Linked DNA regions of Homo sapiens: regions 1 and 3 are each linked to region 2. Evidence: promoter capture Hi-C in 16 types of primary human blood cells and fetal thymus (Javierre and others, 2016). All regions are on one chromosome and are shown on one strand. The core of a region is centred on a gene start or on the middle of the fragment in contact, and the rest is flanking DNA. Distances in the headings are between cores, read along the strand shown.

Region 1 (2,700 bases), core at 189-2,688, 550 kb after region 2:
CATTGCACTCCAGCCTGGGTGACAGGGTGAGACTGTCTCAAAAAAAACAAAAACAAAAACAAAATAAAACCTCTCTACATGCCAAGTGAAAGGTGGAAGTGGGGGTGAGACAGAAATCTGGGAGACCAAGAGACACGGTTGATGTGGGGGTGGGGGAAGGGCTTGGGTAGAGGAGAAGCTTGGATCAGGGAGAACAAGGAACTGAGAAAGAGGAATTCCACGTGGTCGAATGCAAAAGACTTGGAGGCTGTAAGCGGGGGCAGAGTGAAGATAAATGGTACACATCTAGGAAGACACCCAGGTCTGTGGCCTGGTTGACTGAGTGGACGGCAGAGCTAGCCCTAAGGTGGGGATGCAAGAGAGGTGGAGGATTTGGTGTAAGACGTCAATTTCATTGTAGGATTCTTTTTTCTTTCTTTTTTTTTTTTTTTTAGAGAGACTGAGTCTGACTCTGTCCCCCAGGCTTTAGTGCAGTGATGTGAATTCATAGCAGTCTTGATCTCCTGGGCTCAAACGATCCTCCCACCTCAGCCTCCCAAAGTGCTGGGATTCTCGGATTCCAGGCATGAGCCACCATGCCCGAACCATTGTAGGATTTTTTTTTTTAAGTGTGAGATGCCCTTGGGACACTCTAGGGAGAAATCGTAGAGGCCATTGACTACATGAGACTAGAAAGATCTATGATGGGGCTGGGTGGCTTCAGCAGACATGGGGAGCACTGGCTATGAGTAGGAGCTGTTGGGATCAGGGGGAGACTTTGGGTTACGAGTGGATCACTGGGACACTGGGGCACCGTGGGGATCAATACAATTTGGGAATCAGAGGTAGGTTTTGGAGGACAAGTGAGGTTGTTGAAAATAAGAAAATCATGGAAATATACATTGGAGGTTGGTGGAAAATATGAAGGATGTTTGGAGTTAGCATTAATCAATAGTGGGTCAGAGGAAGTCCTCTGAGTTGTGTGGGGACACAGGGATTTGGTGGGTCACCAAGGGTGGGGAAGAATGGTAGCAGATGCTGTGGTCATTCAGGGATTTGAATATGTCAGTGGGAAACACTGGAGGTCAGGGGAGTGTATATTGGGCGTCTAAGGAGAGACCAGGGTCACTTGGGGTTGGCTGTGACTTCATGGGAAGGCTGGACTATGGATGAGGGCTTCTTTGTCGTGGGGGAAAAAAAAAAAAAAATCCCTCCGTTGCTAGGCAAACGTTCCCAGGGCGCGGTTGCTAAGGACTTGAGCTTTCTAACTGGCCACGCCTCTTTCCATTGCGGGCTCCGCCCCCGCAGCCAACCACAAGTCGGTCACAGGCTCAAAGGCCGCGCCCACCTTCTCGCCCCGCCCACAGTCCCAGCACCGTTACCCGAGCGACCGCGGGGATTCGTCCCGCCTCCGGATCTGGGTGCCAATCGAAGAGGCGTTGCCCGGGCGACGACCCCACCTTTTCCGGCGCGGGCCAGCGGCTTCCGGGAGGGGGCCCGGCTGCGGGCGGCAGTCCGGCAGTGGCGGGGCCCGGGGGGCGCCCAAGATGGCGGCGGGCGGCGCGGAGGGCGGCTCGGGCCCCGGCGCCGCCATGGGGGACTGCGCGGAGATTAAGTCGCAATTCCGCACGCGCGAGGGTTTCTACAAGCTACTCCCGGGCGACGGCGCCGCTCGCAGGTCGGGTCCGGCTTCCGCCCAGACTCCGGTGCCGCCTCAGCCACCGCAGCCCCCGCCCGGCCCTGCCTCCGCCTCCGGTCCCGGCGCTGCAGGCCCCGCGTCGTCCCCGCCGCCCGCAGGCCCCGGACCCGGGCCCGCCCTGCCCGCCGTGCGCCTCAGCCTCGTGCGCCTCGGGGAGCCGGACAGCGCCGGGGCCGGGGAGCCGCCCGCCACGCCCGCGGGGCTGGGCTCGGGGGGAGACCGCGTCTGCTTCAACTTGGGCCGTGAGCTCTATTTCTACCCAGGCTGCTGTCGTCGTGGGAGCCAACGGGTGAGCGGCCTGCATCGTGGGGCCCTGGGTGCTGAAAGGATGGAGGTTCCAGAGAACTGATAGGAGGGTCCCCGAATTGATATGGGGCCCTGAGATAGGCATTCTAAATGTGATGGACGTTGTAGGGCGACAGCATTGGAGGGAGTACAGGATTCTGAAATGTGATGAGAGGCCCGCGGGGTGCTGGGCAGGCATCTTGGAGGTGATGGGGGAAATCCCCTTTACCCCCGTTATGCGTAGGAGTTCTGGGATGGTGACTATTGGACATGATGGGGTATCTGAGATGAGGTGGGATCCCCCGGGTTCTGGGGTGGCAGGCATTCTGCAGGTAATGGGGAATCATGAGGTGATGCAAGCCCAGAGGTGATGGAGAACCCAGTATTGCAGCCTGGAGGTGTGGGAGAGGGGTCTTGAGATTGAGCCCAGGAATGAGGAGAAGTCTAGAAGTGATGGGGGCCTTGAAGGTGATAGGGGATCCAGAAGCTGAATGGGATTCTAGAGAAAATTGGGGTCTGGAAGTCATGAGGGTCCTGGAGGAGATGAGCGTCCGGAAGCTGATGGGAGCTCTCAAGGGAATGAGAGGCCCTGGCAGGGGAATCTGCAGGTGTGATTCAGGACATCTCTAAAGCGATGTGGTGAGAACCCTGGCCGTTTATGGTGATCCCAGAAATGATGGGGATCCTTCGGAGCCCCTAGGTAATAAATGGGCCTAAAATGTGGGAGACCGTGAGGT
Region 2 (2,700 bases), core at 147-2,646:
AATTATCTGGGCATGGTGGTGTGCGTCTATAATCCCAGCTACTCGGGAGGCTGAGGCAGGAGAATCGCTTGAACCAGGGAGGCGGAGGTTGCAGTGAGCCGAGATTGCGCCATTGCACTCTAGCCTGGGCAAAAAGAGCAAAACTCCCGTCTCAAAAAAAAAAAAAAAAAAAAAATTCCAAACTGGTCTTTGTAATGACTCACGGAGACCCTGCATGATCTGGCCTCTGTCCTAATCTCATCTTGTTATTGGTCTCCCCCTAAGTAGCCAAAGCCCCAGCCATGCCAGTACCCTTTCATTCCCCATCCCAGGGCCTTTGCACAGGCTGCTTTACCTCCCTGGAACACTCCTCTCCAGTTCTCCCTCTGTGAGTTTCAGCTTAAACGCCTCCTGCTCAGTAAGGCCTTCCCCCACTACCCTATCTAAAGTAGCCTCCAACCCTTATTCTCTACTTCATCACACTGCTGGTTTGCTTTCAAAGCACTCATCACAATTTAAGTATTTTACTTATTTACATGGTTTTTTTTTGTTTTTTTTTTTTTCATGTCTGGTTCACCTGCAAAATTACAAGCTAAGGACAGGGCCACATCTGTCTCATTCACTGCTATATCCCCAAAGTCAAGCACAGTCCTTGGCACATAACAGGTACTCAATAAATATTTGTTGAATTAATGAATGAATGGGTGCCCCACACTTGACTCTCAATATTCTAAGTGATACTATTCTTAAGGATCCCCACCCTTACTCCCAAGGCCCCCACCATCACATTCCTTTTCCTCGGGTCAGCCCAAATCTCCTACTTCCTTGTTCCCCCCATCTAATGATCCATTCCCCACCCCCACGATTGCCTTCTCTATTGGGGCTGTGCCCCCTCTACCCCCCACTTGGCGGCACCCACCCCAGGACTCCCCATTTGGTAGCGCCATCAATCACTCCCCCACCACATGTCACTGCCTGGTAGCGCCCTCTACAGGCCTCACGTTTGGTAGCGCCCTCATTCCAGTCCCCCTCTCGCCCCACAATTGGTGGCGCCCTCCTCAGTCTCTCCACTGAGTAGCACCCGCTCCGCACGCCACTCCTAGGTATCACTCTCCGAAGCCCCCTATGTCGCTCCTTGGCAGCGCCATCCTGGGCCTCCCCACGCCCGGTCACTTGGTAGTGTCTGCCCCGCGCCCAGGCTGCAGCTCCGCGTTGCTATGGTTCCGCGCGGGCCCGGCACCCCTCAGCCTGGGCCACTGTCCACCCTCCCTGCCAGGCGGGCGCACCTTTGAAGTAGTCATTGGCCTGAGTCTTGAGCTCCTCTGCCCGCTTCAGAGCTCCATCAGCCGGGGGTTCGTCCCGGGGGGGCTCAGCACACTCAGTCCTCTCGCCCTCCGCCATCGCCATGCCGCAAAGCGACCCCTACCCTGGCAACGGCCGCCAGCGGCACCCGGCCGAACCGTCGCGAAGGAGCGCCGGGTGGCCGCCGCCGCTGCCGCACAAGTGTCGTAAAGCGCGGGCCCTGAAGGCGCCCTTCACGCGCCTGCGCAGGTCCCTTTCGCCACAGAGCGCGCGGAGGACAAGGTGACCAGAGGTTCCCCAGACGGTACCCCTGGTAGAGAGAGCCAATAGGGAATGAGAGAAGGGGCGCGCGGGGAAACAGACCTGGTGTGGCCTCTCCTCCCAAAGTTACCGTGTTCCAAGGCTGTAAAAAGTTTCTCGGTTCTGAAAGTGGGATTTCCCCGCTGTCCTCTAGGGTTGGGGGGTGGGTTGTGAATGTCGCTGGCGGGTGTGGCTGTTTTGCAAGGCAGCGCCATGCCCTACGCGGAGCCGGACCCGGGCGTCGAGCCCTATTGTCGACTACCTGTGTGACCTTGAACAAATCTTCCCTTCCTCTCTAGGGTCTCAGTTACCCATCTCTGAAAAATTAGTGGTTTCTCAAGCCAAAAAGGGTCCAACCTTGAGGGTCAGTGTTTGAGTTTTTAACTGAAGGCACTCTGGATTTCAAGTCCTGAGCAAGGCTTAGAAGTGTGTTGCACCATCTCCTTTCTTCCTGTGTTCAGCTTCCCAAATCCTGAATCTTCAAATAAACTCTCCTGTTTGTGTTTTTACAGATTCTCTTGTCTGAGATCACAGCATTGATTGCATGCACTCTGCCTCCCTCCAGTTTACCCTTCACATTTTTTTTTTTTTTTTTTTTTTTTTGAGAGGGAGTCTCCCTCTGTCGCCCAGGCTGGAGTGCAGTGGCGCCATCTAGGCTCACTGCAACCTCCGCCTCCCGGTTTAAGCGATTCTTCTGCCTCAGCCTCCCAAGTAGCTGGGATTACAGGCGCCCGCCACCATGCCCGGCTAATTTTTGTATTTTAGTAGAAACGGGTTTCACCACGTTGGCCAGGCTGGCCTCGAACTGCCGACCTCAAGCTATCCGCCCGCCTCGGCCTCCCAAAGTGCTGGGATTACAGGCGTGAGCCACCGTGCCCGGCCGAGGGATCTTTCTAAGACATGATAAAACCATGGCACACTCTCGCTCCCAGGCTTCCATGGCCCCAGCACCCTTAGGAGAAAACCCAAACTCCTGATTAGGAGACCCTGAATAGTCTTAACCTCAGGCTGAATAGTCTAATATCCAGATTCCACCCCTTTGCCAATCCCCACCCGCCGTACACGCTTCCAGTCTGTCCTTTCTAAGCCCTCATGTAGCACTAAGTCCTGTAAGGCTCT
Region 3 (2,700 bases), core at 101-2,600, 610 kb after region 2:
TCACGCCTGTAATCCTAGCACTTTGGGAGGCCAAGGCAGGAGGATTGCTTGATCTCAGGAGTTTGAGACCAGCCTGGCAATATGACAAAACTCCACCTCTACAAAAAAAAAAAAAAAATTACCTGGGCATAGTGGCACATGCTTGTAGTCCCAGCTACTTGGGAGCCTGAGGTGGGGGGATGGTTTGAGCCCAGGAGGTCAAGGCTGCAGTGAGCTAAAATCGCACTACTGCACTCCAGCCTGGATGACAAAGTGAGACCTTGTCTCAAAAACAAAAAAAAAGGAGCCCTCCCAAACCTACAAACCCTAAATTCTAATACTGAGATACCCCAGACCCTCAAACTGTCAACTTCTGATCTTCAAATATGATCCTAATACTAAGATTACAGACTGCAAGCTGTAACACTATGAACCTATATCCTAAGATAAGAAATCCAGGCCCCTATGAAACAAATCTCACTTCTCCAGATTGACCTCTTAGACGTCCAAACTGTCCCTCAAATTGTGGCCCCAACCCTAAAACTGAGATCTCGAATGTGGGTCCTACTCTGAAACCCCAGACCCTAAAACTGGAGCTCCCATACTCAATGTGGGCACTCCAGGCCCTAAAACGTGCTTCTAAAGACTCAAACTGCGACTCCAGATCCTAAAGCTTCATACTCTACATTGGGATTTAGGCCCTAAATCTATACTGAGGCTTCAGTTGCCCCAAATCAGGCTCCAGACTCTCAAAATGTTACATCATAACTCAGAACTAAGACTTCCAGATCCCCAAATTGGGATCTCTGGATTCCAAGGAGAAAGCTTCCAGTCACAAAACTCAAGCTCTTCAGATTCCAGAACTAGTCACCCCTAGACACAAATCCCGAGATCCCAGATCAGAACTCGAGAGCCCGGATTCCCAACACAAACAGAGTCTTCCGTTCCTCAAACTCGAACCTGGACCCCCGGCTTCAAACCCAAACTCCGTCGCCCGTGGCCCTGCACCCAGAGCATGTTCTATTCCCCTGAGCCCCCCACCGAGGGAAGCTCCTGTGGGGATCCCGGGTTCCCCTAAGCCCAGCTAGTGCTGGGGGAGGCCCCCTGCCCCGCGCCCCATTCCCCTTGGCCTCCAGCACCCGCCTCAGGGCGTGCAAAATGGCGTGAGGCTGCCCCCGCCGTTCTGGTTTCTCCGGGCCCCACTCTAGGGAGCCCGATCAGACAGCGTCTCGCGCGGGTCCCGGGAAGCCGGCCGTGCGCGCGGGGATCCCAGACGGTCTCGGACACCACGTTCCCAACCGGGCTTGGGGTTGGGTGCGAATCCTCCCGGCGCGAGGATCCTGCGCGAGGCGTGAGGAGCAGAGCAAGAGTGCGTTCCTGAGGCCAGGCCACGCCCCTACCAGTTCCAGCCAAGATGTGCTGGGCACGAGACGACGGGGTTGAAAGGGCAGGGTGCAAGTGGCCGTGCGCACGCGCGCCTCGGGAAGGGCCCTGTCGTCTTGCACAGCGTGAGCTCGGCCTCGAGCCTTCTGACAAGGCCTTGGTCGGCGTGAGCCGCTAGGTGACCAATCAGCGCCCGCTCAGCCACCCGCCTTTTTAAGCGGTCACGCCCCTGCACGACCCGCGTGGTCCAGGGCCGTTGCATCCCAAGTAGGCTGGGTTTCCTCAACTGCCAACTCTCAGGAAGAGAGAGAGAGCGAGCTCGCCTGTGTCCCTTCTGGCCCTATGATGTCCCATTTCCACCTTTTCCCTTCAGTTCGTGATTCATGAGGGCCTCCTGTGTGCCAAGCACCAGGCTAGATGGTGGGAACTTAGCCACTGTCTTCCCAGTACAATCGAGAAGACCGTGAGAACCTCCGAGACCATGAGAATCCGGTGAGACGGGAACTCGGTTAATGCAGAGAACAATACGTTGGGAAAGGATTCAAAGAGGAGGGCCATTTGAATTGGGCCTTCTTGGGAGGACGAGGCGGGCGGATCACTTGAGGTCAGGAGTTCCAGACCAGCCTGGCCAACAATGGTGAAACCCCGTCTCGGCTAAAAATACAAAAATTAGCCGGGCATGGTGGGGCGCGCCTGTAGTCCCAACTACTCCAGAGGCTGAGGCAGGAGAATCATTTGAACCTGGGAGGTGGAGGTTGAATGAGCTGGTATCGCCACTGCACTCCAGCCTGGGCGACAGAGCAAGACTCTGTCTCAAAAAAAAAAAAAAAAAAAAAAAGGAAAAAAAAGAAAGAAAAAGAATAAAAGATTTGGGCTTTTTTTTTTTTTTTTTTTGGTAGAGACGAGGGTCTCACTTTGCTGCCTAGTTTGGTCTTAAACTCCTGGACTAAAGCCAGTCTCCCGGCTGAGATTATAAGCATGAGCCACCGCACCCAGCCTGGAAAATACGTCTTAAGGGGAGATGATCTAACGACCTAGTCAAGAGTAGAAACCCTGAAATCCAATACATTTCAGTTCAAATCGTTTTCTTGGCTGTGTTGCCAGCGACAAGAGGCTTAATCTCTTTCTGCCTTATAAATTTGGGATTGTAATTCCTACCAGGGTTGTCTGTAGGGTGTCTGGCATATAGTTCCGATGCAATAAATATTTACTGAACACATGTTTACGCTGTTCTAGGTGCTTGAACAAGGTACACAAAGATCTCTGCCCTCCTGGAGCTTCTTCTTCTTCTTCTTCTTTTTTTTTTTTTTGAGACGGAATCTCGCTCTGTCCCCCAGG

Evidence for each region. The method cuts DNA at HindIII sites, captures the fragments that hold promoters and counts their contacts. A CHiCAGO score of 5 or more calls a contact.
Region 1: the fragment with the promoter of DMWD here is called in contact with the fragment with the promoter of PPP5C in region 2 in 2 of 17 cell types (M1 macrophages and erythroblasts); the score reaches 10.1 in M1 macrophages.
Region 3: the fragment with the promoter of MEIOSIN here is called in contact with the fragment with the promoter of PPP5C in region 2 in 2 of 17 cell types (non-activated CD4 T cells and M1 macrophages); the score reaches 6.5 in non-activated CD4 T cells.

Annotation. Positions count from the first base shown.
Region 1 is chr19:45,791,583-45,794,282 of GRCh38, reverse strand. It overlaps DMWD (DM1 locus, WD repeat containing), which reads left to right and starts at 1,438. Exons shown (of 5, transcript NM_004943.2): 1 at 1,438-1,967. The coding sequence starts at 1,527. RefSeq lists a silencer at 1,310-1,789. The HindIII fragment of the contact is 5,053 bases long and covers 181-2,700 here.
Region 2 is chr19:46,345,783-46,348,482 of GRCh38, reverse strand. It overlaps PPP5C (protein phosphatase 5 catalytic subunit), which reads right to left and starts at 1,396. Exons shown (of 13, transcript NM_006247.4): 1 at 1,266-1,396. The coding sequence starts at 1,386. RefSeq lists enhancers at 1,149-1,278, 1,379-1,558. The HindIII fragment of the contact is 16,758 bases long and covers 1-2,700 here.
Region 3 is chr19:45,732,089-45,734,788 of GRCh38, reverse strand. It overlaps MEIOSIN (meiosis initiator), which reads right to left and starts at 1,350. Exons shown (of 15, transcript NM_001310124.2): 1 at 1,123-1,350. It also overlaps a transcript of FBXO46 not described here. The HindIII fragment of the contact is 2,985 bases long and covers 807-2,700 here.